Linked DNA regions of Homo sapiens: regions 2, 3 and 4 are each linked to region 1. The links are contacts of gene promoters, found by promoter capture Hi-C in blood cells and fetal thymus (Javierre and others, 2016). All regions are on one chromosome and are shown on one strand. Each heading gives the region's core, a stretch centred on a gene start or on the middle of the fragment in contact. The rest is flanking DNA. Distances are from core to core; before and after follow the strand shown.

Evidence for each region. Contacts are between HindIII fragments. The CHiCAGO score rates a contact against its expected background, and 5 or more counts as called.
Region 2: the fragment with the promoter of SEC61A1 here is called in contact with a fragment that was not itself captured in region 1 in 2 of 17 cell types (total CD8 T cells and total CD4 T cells); the score reaches 7.6 in total CD8 T cells.
Region 3: the fragment with the promoter of POGLUT1 here is called in contact with a fragment that was not itself captured in region 1 in 2 of 17 cell types (naive B cells and non-activated CD4 T cells); the score reaches 5.6 in naive B cells.
Region 4: a contact is called between the fragment with the promoter of CHCHD6 here and a fragment that was not itself captured in region 1, in 1 of 17 cell types (activated CD4 T cells). The highest score is 5.7, in activated CD4 T cells.

What each region holds. Positions count from the first base shown.
Region 1 is chr3:123,581,673-123,584,924 of GRCh38, forward strand. It overlaps HACD2 (3-hydroxyacyl-CoA dehydratase 2), which reads right to left. Exons shown (of 7, transcript NM_198402.5): 1 at 3,201-3,252; 2 at 540-657. Among named protein-coding and RNA genes, the nearest start is that of HACD2, 1.8 kb to the right of the region's middle. RefSeq lists silencers at 2,706-2,885, 2,896-3,252. The HindIII fragment of the contact is 262 bases long and covers 1,539-1,800 here.
Region 2 is chr3:128,050,897-128,054,148 of GRCh38, forward strand. It overlaps SEC61A1 (SEC61 translocon subunit alpha 1), which reads left to right and starts at 1,541. Exons shown (of 12, transcript NM_013336.4): 1 at 1,541-1,663; 2 at 1,939-2,006. The coding sequence starts at 1,657. It overlaps LOC102723759 (a long non-coding RNA gene), which reads right to left and starts at 1,279. Exons shown (of 4, transcript XR_007096073.1): 1 at 1,066-1,279. RefSeq lists a cis regulatory region at 1,106-1,722 and a silencer at 1,215-1,854. The HindIII fragment of the contact is 3,738 bases long and covers 1-2,806 here.
Region 3 is chr3:119,467,522-119,470,773 of GRCh38, forward strand. It overlaps POGLUT1 (protein O-glucosyltransferase 1), which reads left to right and starts at 1,442. Exons shown (of 11, transcript NM_152305.3): 1 at 1,442-1,585; 2 at 2,299-2,389. The coding sequence starts at 1,501. RefSeq lists enhancers at 1,106-1,606, 1,299-1,468 and a silencer at 1,519-1,718. The HindIII fragment of the contact is 3,798 bases long and covers 1-2,066 here.
Region 4 is chr3:126,702,579-126,705,830 of GRCh38, forward strand. It overlaps CHCHD6 (coiled-coil-helix-coiled-coil-helix domain containing 6), which reads left to right and starts at 1,662. Exons shown (of 8, transcript NM_032343.3): 1 at 1,662-1,821. The coding sequence starts at 1,735. RefSeq lists enhancers at 1,242-1,301, 2,362-2,913 and a silencer at 1,852-2,051. The HindIII fragment of the contact is 1,689 bases long and covers 1,041-2,729 here.

The sequences.
Region 1 (3,252 bases), core at 420-2,919:
AATAGTTTGAATTGGGTTTTTGTCCCTTGCAATTCCAAAATCCTAATCTATACTTACCCCAAGAGAGAGGGCTGGATATACATTGCCCTTAATGCAGGGAAATCAATACATTTTTGTTAAATTTTTAAAATTTGGACGCCTCTAGACAGGCTCTCTATTATGTCTTCTATCTATCACTTCCAATATCCTACACCCACCAACTTCACTATTTCTATTACATAAACCCTGAAAGCATCTGATTTTGCCAGTGCTTCCCCAGGATGTCCCTAGAATTTTTAAAAATCCTAATATAAGCTTGCTTCAGTTGATTTCCCAAAAAAGTCGAATATAAAATACATTCAAGGTAACCTAAGTTAAATGAGATTCTACCCAATCTAGAACATCAAAAAGCCTAGGTATCAACACTTTAGTATGTGAGGAGGCAAAATTTCAAAATTTAACATGAATCCAAAGGGGGTATGCTACTTCAATATAATTTAGTTGCATGTTTTTCTTCATACCAATGGAAATCAATAACAACAATAAATCTCAGGACCTACCTCCAATAAGGCTCCAGTTTGAAAGAATTTCAAAGGCTTTTCAATTGAATAATAAAGGCTATGGTAGCTACCCTTAGCCAGGTATGCTCGGACCAGACCAACCGCTATAACCAGCCACCTAGTAAAAGAGAAAACAGCAATCAGGAAAAAATAAAAATAAAAAAAGTAGCATTTAGGTTAACACACAGCTGTGGCAATAAAAGATATTGCTAAAGGTGACCTCAAGCATGAGTAACCTGGATTTATGGACGATAGCTCTCAAATGCCAAGCTGTAATGCACTGAAATGTTGCAACACCGACAGCACCTTACCAAGAGGGCTCAGTGAAAGCATAGTGGCACCTCACCCATCTGGAGCTCATTTTTTTGGCAACTTTGCTATTGAGATCAAGGCCAAAAGGAAAGGAATAAGCTAAAATGGTCCTTGTGCCACTAAATCAGGTGCCAAGAAAATCTAAGACGAGAAAAAAACAGTTAAAGGAAAATTTTAAACAGCCTGTGCAGTTAAAGGGTTTTTAATAATTACAGGGTGGAAAGAAGATGCTTTAAACTATTGTTATAATTGTCTCACTGGAACAATTACCCATACCTTAAAATCTATCCTTTTAAAATTACGAATAAAGGGCTCTTGCTAAAAAAAAAAAGTTTTTTAGCCAAATTTCCTAAAATCAATGCAGAAATGAAAGCCAGATCAATACAAACCACGAAACAGGAAAGCACTTAAGCATACAGCTGTGAATGTTATATTTTTGTTCCACTGTCCTTCTCAAAAATAAACACAATGTTTTGTTAAGTTCCATAATAAAACAAATGGACCTTTTTATTAAGGTATGTCTCCTGGAAGGATTTAGATAAATGTATAGTATCAACTAGGCAATGGGGTGTGTGTGGTCTATGCTATTTCCAAAAACTATCACATAAGGACATCAAGTAAGAGTTTGTAAAAGAAGAAATTATTTAATGGTGTAACTGGTACAACCATTAACAGCCTTAAAAAAAAAGCTTACTTTGCTCTCACAATCCCAATTTATCTTCCTGGTTTAAGATACCACTCCTTACCCTCCACCCCATTCTCTATGTTCATTGCTCAGGAATAGACTTCTTTCTTCTTACCAATGTACCTCAAAATCCCTCTCCAGTCCAATGCCCTCACCGGCTCTTGCTAAGACAACAAGAATTTTATATATAAATATTAATACACACAGTGAGATTCCTGGATGTTTTTTTAAAAATCAATCTATGTGACCACTGATGTGATATAAAGCTTGTATCTGTACTAGTTCTTCATTGACCTGTGAGTCAAGAGAAATGATTTCTAGATCTGGAACTTCTACTAACAAGTTCTATGATCTCATGCAAGTCACAACTTCTCTGAGCCTAGGTTCCAACACCTACCATTTCTAATACTAGCAATACATATATGATCCTCCCACGATATATTTTCTTCTTCGTGAAAAAAAAGCAAGGTGCTGAACTGTAAAAATATTAATATATTGGCATTTGTCTTATTTTAAAAAGGGATAGGGGGATGTATAAACATATTTGCTTGCATCAGCATCTTAAGGATACACAAAATTAACTGCCTCGAGGGAGGGGAGCTGGGTAGAAGGGAAAGGTGGGAGGAAAGATTTTCACTGTATTCCCTCATGTTTTTCATTTTTAACCCTAACAATGTATCACCTACTTTAAATAAAAATGGATGTTCACTATACAATTCTTTCAACTCTTCTGTATGTTTGAAATTTTTCATAATAAAATGTTAGGACTTCTTAAAAAATTACAAATGAAGATAACTTAAAAATATATAACTGTCTGATGCTGTGATCCTCCTCACCAAAATGACAAGATAAAGAATTGCAGAGCTGAAGGAACCTTCATCACCCAGACCAACCCTTTAGTTTTACAAATGAAAAAACGGAGGCTAGAGAAATAAGATGATTTATCCAAAGTCACACAGCTAGTTAGTGGCAGAGCTTGAACTAAAAACCCGCCGGGATAAGGGATGCACTGAAATGAAAGAGACAGAAGATGGGTAAAACCGTTTCGAGGGTCCATTCTCCCCCTTTCCAGTAACTCTGCCTTCTACTCCCCAGTTTCTTCCCCACCCCAACCCATCCTAAAAGTCTAAACTCATCTAAAGCCTAGCTCTGCTCATGTCGCTGGCCAAAAACTTTGAACGCTTTCCCAATACCTTTCAGATTAAAGCGCAGCCCAGATTTTGAAAACAGCCGCCCAAATGAATGGTCACTCTGCAGCCACAGCTCCTCCACTCCCCATGCTGGCGCCGTTCAACATCCGAATCTGGCCGCCCAGGACGGGCTCCGCGCCGCAGGTAGTCCGGCCGCTGCCCCCGGCCCCGCACCTGTGGCCAGCCCCACCTTTCCTCCCGCGGCCCTCGCGAGCCAGCGCCCGGCAGCCGTCCCCGCGCCCCAGTGCCTGGGAACTTGGCTCGACCCCCAGCGCAGGAGGGAGCTCGCGGGCAGCCACCGGGGCCGATTCAGCGCTCGGCCGCCCTCAGCGCCCAGGTACCGGGTCCCGGGCACCCCCCGCCGGGAATGCACTGCCTGCGGCGGGCCGCGCCGATCCTATCCGCCCCGCCGCTGGCCGCAGGGCTCCCTCCCCGGCCGCGCTGGCTCCCCGCCTCCCCGAGCCCCAGCCTCACCCGGCTGTCATCACCACATTGTAGATGACCAGGTACGCCGTGGCCAGGGGCC
Region 2 (3,252 bases), core at 291-2,790, 4.5 Mb after region 1:
TATATTAAAATTTCTATTAACTAATTGTAATATTTATTGTAATTACTATACTATTTACCCTCGAAATATTTCAACATTTTAACCATCAATATGGTGCAGGGTGCATAATGGCTAAATATCGGATCTAGTCTATATGCTGAACTTAGTCCAGGGGCTGCCAGTTTTAGCTTCAGGCCAAAACTCCAGAAGAGATCATCAGTGGGTCCTGGAAGTGAAGATGGGTTGCATTTCAGACTCTGAATAAAGAGTCAATGTCTTCTTTTTCCCCTTTTTGGTGGGGGATGGATATCAAGTGATGTCACACCTAGACCACTTCACTGAAGTTACCTGCCTGTTCCCAGTAGTCCTTTGAATTTTCCACCAGTGGGTTTGTATTCCAAAAAAGACTTCCTGTCCTGTCCAACTTTCTGAGCCAAGAATGTACAAAACCTGATTATCTGCTAGAAATGGGTGAGAATGGAAAAATCCAAATAGTTGACACCTAAATTAAAAGCAAAAAAGCATCTTGCCACATATGTACCCTCAACTTCTACCTGTCCTGGTCAAGGTTTAGCTCCATGAAACCTTGCCTGATCCCACAAGGCGTGCCCACCTCCTCCCTGCTAAATGCTCACAGCATTAAGTCTGTTTCTCTTAGATGACATCATACCTACTGACTACAGATGCCTGAAAGTAAATTCCAACCCCCAGCCCCAGCATCCCTTGCCCTACCCGTTATCCCCCTTTCCCACACCGATCTTAGGCAATCACACCGCCATGCTTTGCCCACAACAGTCTCCTCAACCTGTTCCCTCATTCCTTCTCGCCAGAATCTATCAAGGCTCGGCACAAAGGTACTCTCCCAGGAGGCCTTCCTGAATTCTTCTGTGAGGCAGACTACTTCCCGAGCTGCCCCGGCCCTTCTCCGGCCAAGTCTCTCCAGAAACTCATCCCATTCGTTCTCAGATGGAAGGGGACCCACACCCACGACAAGCCTCCGGGTTTGCTTAATGACTCAGACAGCGAGGGTGCTCGGTAAGCCCCACCAGCCCGCGCCCTACTCAGCAGGTAATGACGGAGACCTACTAGGTGACGGGCGCCGCGGTAGACGCTGGGATAAGGTCCCTGCTCCAGGGAGCTTACGGTCTATTCACTAACGTCAAAGAGCAGTGAGTGCTGTTACGTGTATGGGAGCCACCAGGGTCTCCGCCTGCCTGCAGGGCCACGCGCGCACTCGACGCTTCGCGCCTGCCTCAGTTTCTCCGTGAGGCCGCACAGCCCCAGTCTCGGGAGGCGTGACACACCCTCCCCGCGCGCTCTCGCGTTACCAAGTCTGCGCAGCCGCACACCCCCAGTCCCGGCGGGCCCCGCGCGCCAGGCCCCTTCCCGACAGGCCCCAGGAGCCCCGCTGCATGCCGGGGCTTGAGGTCTCGGCGAAGCGGCGCGGCGCGGCGAAGCGCGGCGGCCGGCGGGCGCGCGTGGCAGGAAGCGGAAGCGATCCGAGGCCCGGCCCCGGCCCCGCCCCGCGCCGCGCCGCGCCGCTTGCCGCCGGGCTAGCACTGACGTGTCTCTCGGCGGAGCTGCTGTGCAGTGGAACGCGCTGGGCCGCGGGCAGCGTCGCCTCACGCGGAGCAGAGCTGAGCTGAAGCGGGACCCGGAGCCCGAGCAGCCGCCGCCATGGCAAGTGAGTCCTGTAGGGAAGCCCTATTGAGGCCGGGACGGAACAGATCCCCCTTCCCCACACCCGTGCGGTCGGGCGCCCGCCGGCCAACCCTGACCGGCCCCCTGCAGAACGCGGCCCGTGCCCCCGGCCCTTCTCGAGTATCCCCACGCGTCCGGGGTGCGGCCGGCTCCCCTGGCCCCTGCTCTCACTCGTCGTGGGCAGAAGGCGTCCCTGGGTAGCGCGGAAGGTTACTTCTCTGTGTCCCAACTCTTCCTGTTTTGTTTCTCCCATCAAAGTCAAATTTCTGGAAGTCATCAAGCCCTTCTGTGTCATCCTGCCGGAAATTCAGAAGCCAGAGAGGAAGGTAAGTACCCCAAATCGCCAACAAAGAAGGTTTCAGGAAACTGTCTGGACTCTGGAAGTTTACAGTATGATTAAAAATGGCTTCAGCACGGCAATGGAAACTCTCCCTTCTCTTCCCTTGGAGTGTAGTTGTGCTCTGTTATTCCGGAGAGCTGTCGAAAGGTGACCTGGTTGTGTGGAAATTTCCACTGAAATCACTGTGCTTTATTTGGAGCATCTTTGGTGGATGTTGCTCCGAGAACAAAGCCTCCGGTTGCCCTGTCCCAAAAATGGATCCGGGCCATGAATGAATAAGGCCTCAGTTAGGATAGCAGATTGAGTTACCCTCCCTTTTTCACCTCCAACGGGAGCAGATCACGGGTTGGTTTTTTTTCCCAGGAGATGCCCTTTGTATCCAGCTGCTAAAGGGAAGGGCTGTCACTTTAGTATTTACAAATGATTTTGTACCTTTTATGTAGGCTGTCACAATAGGGGGAATAAAGGCTATTCTTTTGTGAAGTCTGCTGCTTTTCACAGACGGTGTATTAAAACAAGGAAAGATTAAATTTAGAGCTGTGCTGAATCAGAAATTGTGTGGAGTGAGTGTTGCCAGTGTAACTACAGCTGTCAACGAAAAAAAGTTTCATTAGGTTCCTAGGTTAGAGAGTGGGGAATAAAATGTTTGTGTCCTCACATTATTTTTCAAACTGTTGTTAAAGCATTCACATGGACACTTGGGTGCTTGGAATCCACTTTCATTTTTTTACGTAAAATAGTTTCATATAAATGCCCATGTGCTGCTTTTAATGGACGAATTTGTAAAGCTTTACCCCCTCAATTCCAGTGTAGCGAAGGGGCATGGCTCTGGAGGCAGGCAAGCCTAGGTCCCACCCTTTACATAGCACCTTAATAGCTATGTGACCTTGGCCTTGTAACTCAGTGTGGTAGACGGAACAAGGGAAATACGTGCAAGGTATAGCAGTGGCTCAGGAAGGGATTAACTCTGGGAGACATGATGTCTTATGGTGGTTTTGAAGGAGAAATAGAAGTCTCCTTGAAGGGACGGAAAGGAATTCCAAATAAAAGGAGTATATAGTTTGCAAAGGCATTGGTGACAAGAGTGTAGCATGTTTGGATGGGAGGTTATTAGATGTAGTTGCTATTGATAGAACATAATTGTAGGTGGGGAACATTAGGAGATGAATAACAAGGGCCAGACATGAGAATGTCACTTTGGAAGAAAAGGAGAGGACTAGAGTTGGTTTAGA
Region 3 (3,252 bases), core at 192-2,691, 4.1 Mb before region 1:
GCTTGAACCCAGGAGGCGGAGGTTGTGGTGAGCCGATATTGAACCATTGCACTCCAGCCTGGGCAACAAGAGCGAAACTCCATCTCAAAAAAAAAAAAAAAAAAGAAAATAGATAAATATTTGTAGTTCTATGATTACTAAATATATCTACACTGACCTATATATACCTGTATAAAGATATATACCTGTACTATACTATATACCTATATTGTCCAGTATCATGTTGCCCACTGTCAAGAAACAAAATTTCATCAAATTTAGTTTAAAGTTCTTGGCCAGGCATGGTGGCTCACGCCTGTAATCCCAGCACTTTGGGAGGCCGAGGTGGGCAGATCACCTGAGGTCAGGAGTTTGAGACCAACCTGGCCAACACGGTGAAACCCTGTCTTTACTAAAAATACAAAAATTACCCGGGCATGGTGACACACTCCTGTAATCCCAGCTACTCGGGAGACTGAGACAGAAGAATTGCTTGAACCCGGGAGGCAGACGTCATAGTGAGCCAAGATTGTGCCACTGCACTCCAGGCTGGGCAACAGAGTTAGACTGTCCTCTGTCTCAAAAAAAAAAAAAAATCGAATTGGCTTTTATTAGTGATTCATGAATCAGGCAGCATCTCATCTATAAAACAGAAAAGTGTTCTAATGAGCTGAGCAGAAGGGGTTGGGCTTATAGGCAGAAAAGGGCTGAAGAAAGCAGAAATAAGGAACAAAAAGCAGATTGGTCATTTTGAAGTTACTTTCCTCAAAGAGTTACATCAGAGGGGACTTCTTTATCATGCCAGCTCAGGTATATGGGCCCCTTCTCCTATTTGTTGGAAAACTGACCCCTTTTAAAGCTGAGTTTAATTACGCAGCACCTAGGACAAGTTGCCTCCATTCTGGTTTTGTCTGCTCTCTTGAGGCCTAGTGCCAGAGTTCTGTCCAAAACAACGACCTCCCATAAACTTTATTTAACACCATTGATCTTTTTTCCTACGTCTAAGTCACCCCAACTGTTATAAATTCCTATTACAAAGGGATCCCTGCTATGCTAATTGCAACCTTTGGGGTCTAACCGTGCTGTACACACACACACACACACACACACACACACACACACATGCTCAACAAATTTATGCTATTTGATAAGAGGCAATTTGACGTCAAGAGAAGAACTGTTTGGCCTAGGCTCTATGCCAAGTCTTGGTTGTGCCACTAACCGTGAAACATACCCTCTCTGACCTTCAGTTTTCTGGCTGCAGACCTATTTTCCCAGGGGTGCCAGGGAGGGAGGATAGGCAACTGGTCCATTCGTTTATCCTCCCCACCTTCCCGGCGCAGCCTTCTCAGGGAAACTCCGCCTCAAGGCTGGGGACTGGAGGAAGGGTGGTGGGGCCACGGTGGCCATCTTTGTGCGGGGCGACCCGCCGCCCACGTGCTGCGGCTCCCGGGCCATCTTTGTGCGGGGCCGCGCTTCCGCCAGCGCCGCAGCGGGGAATCTGCAGTAGGTCTGCCGGCGATGGAGTGGTGGGCTAGCTCGCCGCTTCGGCTCTGGCTGCTGTTGTTCCTCCTGCCCTCAGCGCAGGGCCGCCAGAAGGAGTCAGGTGGGCTCCGGGCAGTGCCGAGCCTGCCCCTTGGGCTCGGGGTCTGGCCGGAGTCCCGAGGCGCTCCCCCGCGCGGCCGGCTCCCGGGAAGATGCCGTGGCCGCTGTAGCTCGGAGCTGGGCAGAAGGCACCGGGGCGCCTTGCGGCGGAGAGTGAGGTGCCGGGGTCTCTGCTCCTGCTCTGGACCCTGGAGAGTAACCCATTCCCCGGAATTCAGAATGACAGGGAGGAGAGGGAATTCCCCGTTCACCCGCAGGAGGCGTGGCCCGTGCTTGGCTACTCTGGACCTGCCTGAAACACTGAGGGGTCGGGGATGGGGGCAAATGTCGTGCGCGCGAGCGTGTGTGTATATGCGTTGCCAGAAGAGAAGAGGGGTTTAATGTCTGTAGCTTTTAACTGATCCTCTTTGTGGAGTTCAATTTGATTAGTAGAAAGTGAGAGTCCGCGTCACTATCCATAGCATTCTGAGGGTTGAGCATTAAGCTTGGGAATTTTCCAGTTTCTTGGACACCTGACAGCCGGATAGAGGAACAGACTTGACGTGAGCGTGGGAGTTGCACACACAAAAATTCCTCCCTAGCGTTTCGTTTCCATCAGTGGGATGGGAAGGGGATTTCTGAAAGTTTTGGTCTTCTGTTTCTTCTGTTGGTGTGGTGTCAGCAAATAACATTCAGGAAAATTTTTTTAACTCTCATTTACTTCACTTTTTAAAGGTTCAAAATGGAAAGTATTTATTGACCAAATTAACAGGTCTTTGGAGAATTACGAACCATGTTCAAGTCAAAACTGCAGCTGCTACCATGGGTGAGTTCTTTTCTTTGATGTGTCTTTGAGAGTTTAGTTGCTGTCACAGGAAGTATTCTAACATCCTTGAGAGATTTTGGTTGCAGTGGTCAGAAAGGCAAGGATGTTTTTCTATTTCTGGGGAATAAAAATGCTCTCGCATGGGAAAGGCTCAGGTGGTGTCAACCTAACCACTGACTCACTGCGGGATTCAGTGCATGTGCATCTGTTTTTCCCACTGGGCTGCAAGCTTCCTGAGGTCAGGGTCTGTGTCTTATTTGCTGTTGTCTCCCTGGTGCTAGCTGTCAGTGCGTGCTCGATAAATATTGTTGAGGAAATAAACCCATCTATCGCTGAATCTAGTCCTAAATTTCCTGATGGTTATCTTTAGAAAATGCACATCAGGCTGGGCATGGTGGTTCATGCCTGTAATCCCAGCACTTTGAGAGGCCAAGGCAGGTGGATCACCTGAGGTCAGAATTTCGAGACCAGCCTGGCCAACATGGTGAAACCCTGTCTCTACTAAAAATACAAAAATTAGCTGGGCATGATGGCACGTGCCTGTAATCCCAGCTACTCGGGAGGCTGAGGCAGGAGAATCGCTTGAACCCGGGAAGCAGAGGTTGCATTGAATCCAGATCATGCCACTGCACCCCAGCCTGGGTGACAGAGTGAGACTCCGTCTCAAAAAAGAGAGAGAATGCACATCAGGGCCGGGATGAGGTATGGTAGAAAGATAACTCTGAAAACAGACTTGGGTGTTGGTGCCGGTACTCCCACTGGTTACCCCTGTGCCGAGCCACTTCAACTCCTCTGGGTCTCAGATTCTTCATCAGCTAAATAACAGGGTCTTTTAAGCTCCTTTTTATGTTATTTTTGACTCC
Region 4 (3,252 bases), core at 412-2,911, 3.1 Mb after region 1:
CAACTACTATGAACAATTATACACCAAGAAACTGGATAATTTAGGAGAAATGGACGAATTCCCAGAAACATACCATCTATCCAAACTGAGTCTTGAAGAAACAGAAAATCTGAACAGACCAATAACGAGTAAGGAGATTGAATTAGTAATCATAAACCTCCAAGGAAAAGAGACAAAGGAAAGCCCAGGACCAGGTCTGACCACATCTTTACTCAGTTTTCCCCGCGGCCCCCGGTCCCCACCCCTCTTAGCCTGTCTCCCTAACTTCCTTTCTCCTGAGGTGCTCCCCCAGGAAACTCCTTGCACCAGAATCCCCTACGCAGGCTCTGCTTATAGGGAAGAAATGGACGACAGAGGTGATGGAGTGGGGTGCGCCAATGAAGTATTTTGAATGAAACTAGCAGACACCTTTGTTCCTAAAGATTCCATCGTCACACCAGCTCTGGGATGTTTACTAGCTTCTTCACCCTGAGCTATTCTCAATCTCAGAGCCTTACTGCTCTCTCTCAATCATTCTCTCCTCCTCACCCCTTTCTTTCCAGGTTGCCAATAGGAGCTCCAAATATTTTCTGGCTATTTCATGTAGCCATCTAGTTTTCCTCAGCTCGGCTTCAGGCGCACTTTTGCAAATCAAAGCCATTCAGCAACTCAGAGGAACAAAAAGGGGCTTATTTGAAGGTAGCAGTGTCTATGACTGGCAACCGTCTGTGTGCTCCCTTACACATAGGGTCCTGTGTAAGAAGCCTACACACAATGCCTGGCACACTGCACTCCACACATGGTATGTACACTCCTTGGGCAATGCCTCCTAACGGCTTAGGACCATTCCCTGTCCTCCCGGGGCGTTTAGAATAAAACCCACACTCAGACCCTGCCTCACAAGACCCGACATGATTTGGGTCCTCACCACTCCTCTGCCCTCTTCTCACTTTCCAGCCATGGGATGACCCCTCTTTCTCTTTTCCTGCCTGAGACTCCCAGGAAACCTCTTCCCCTACCTTTTTCTACATAAATCCTACTCTCCCGCCGGCTCAGTTCAAAGCTTCTTCCTCAGAGGTTGCTCTGGCCACTGAAATTAAAAGAGGCCTCCTTCTGTTCATTTTACTAGTGGCATCGCCATGCAGTTTTCCGTGTATTACAGTCAGTTTCCTTGCGTGCGTGTTTGGCTTTTCACTTGTTTTCCCCTTGCACTGTAAACCTCTCAAGGGCAGGACACTCGCTGTCTTGAGGGGCGCTGTAATGCCAGGGCCAGGTCCCTGCTCGTCTGGCGCTCAGCCCGTGCTGCTCTACACGTGTTTGCTGAATGAATGGAGCAGTGAACCCTCAGAAATTCGCCTCCAGATGAGCGCCTTGGCCGTCTCGGCGTCTCCTGGCCTCAGAACATCACCCTTGGCTCTCCCTCAAGGGGGAGCTCCCAAAGCGAGAACGTGACCCTGTCCTGCACCCAGCCCTCCACTCCAGGGCCTCCGCCGGTACACATCTTCGGCCTCAGCCTAACGCACTCTAGCAGGCACAGACCGCCACGCCCCCACCCCTCCAGACGGAAGGACTGCAATCCCCACAAGGCACCGCGACTCAGCGCCACCCGATTGGTGAAGCCTCTGGCGTCGGCCAATAGGACGTGGCTTTGTTGGCGTGTGCCGCGGCCGCGCGAGTCCTGGAAAGCGTTGTTGGCCCGGTTGCTCTGGAGCCGGGTCTCGGGTCTGGTGGCTGCCGGCCCTGCGGCATCTCGCCATGGGGAGCACGGAGAGCAGCGAGGGCCGCAGGGTGTCCTTCGGAGTGGACGAGGAGGAGCGGGTCCGGGTGCTGCAGGGTGTCCGGGTGAGCGGCGCCGCCTGGGCCGGGGCGGGCGTGGAGGCCGCGGGCGCGGGGGGGAGGTGCGGGGCGGAGCGCAGGGCCGGGGCTCTTTCCACGCGTGAGGGGCGTGGGGCTTGGGAGACTCCGGGGGCTCAGGCCAGGAAGAGGCTGAGCCGAGACGCGAGCCCGAGGCTGGCAGCCTTGGAGCTTCGCGACATGGGCTTCAGGGAAGGAGGAGTGAAGAACTGTACAGGTGCGAGGCCCCTGGGACACGAGGGACGCCCTGGCCACGTCCTGGCTCCGGTCGGCTTAGTTTTTACGTTTCTTGAATTTGCGCCCGGCCTCCCAGCCCGTGGCCCCTCAGGTGCGCGCATCTCGTTCTGGGTACGCGGTGTCTCCCACCTGGGCTTTGCCTGGGGACTCAGCTCTTCCCCGCCGGCCTGTTCTCCACAGCACATCTGCGGGGCGCAGGAAGAACCATAGCTCAGATCTGATCCCCTTCCTTGCCTGAAACCCTCCAGTGGGTTCCTAGCGCGCTTGGATGATGCCTTCCCTGGTTCCAAAGCTGGCCGCTGCCCGTCGACCTCTGGGGACTGCATCCCTCTGGGACTGCATCTCGTGCCATTTCCCTCGCGTGGCACCCGCACCTCGTCCCCAGCCTCAGGACCGCCGTGTTTTCCTGGAGGGTGCCGCTGGCTCAGCTCAGGGTCTGTGCGCCGGCTGTTCTCTCTCCTTCAGCTCTCCTTAAATCCCGCTGTTTCTTGTAATTCTTGTTGTAATTCAGATATCACCAGAGAATCCTTCCCTGACCACCCAATCTGAAGTAACCTCCCACCCCGCGTCCAACATTTATTATTTTCATAGCACTCATCACAGTGATCGCTTCTGTTGATAATTGTTTACTTGTTTATTGCGTTTACTGCTAGAGTGTAAGCTTTTTGAGGCTAAGGTTCCTGTCTGATTGAAGACTGTCCCCAGAACCCAGAAGAATAAAAGCAGCTCTTATTGCAGTGTAGGGGCCATGCGTTGGACTAAACCCTTTATAAGTTAACTGATTTAATTTTCAACAGCCCTATTTAGCCCATTATTGTAGATTAAGGAGAAGTGAGGCACTGAGAGGTGAACGAACTGATCCAAGATCATGTAAATAGTAAGTGGGAGAGCTGGGATTGAAACAAGCCAATTCCAGGGCATGTTGCTGTGCTCGGCCTCTTCCTCCACCTGTGTCTACACCTGCAGGTGCTTTGTAAGTAACTGTGGAGAGATGAATGAACCCAGTAAAAGGGACTAGGATTAAATGAAACGCACAGAGCTGGGTGTAGATGAATTAGTTAATTAAGGAGGAATTAGGGAGGTGGCTTAGAAAGACAGACTTCAGGAGTTCTGGCAGGTGCTCATTAGCTGTGTGACCTTGGGTAAAAAACTCTTTTGAGCCTCAATGGCCACATTAAAAAA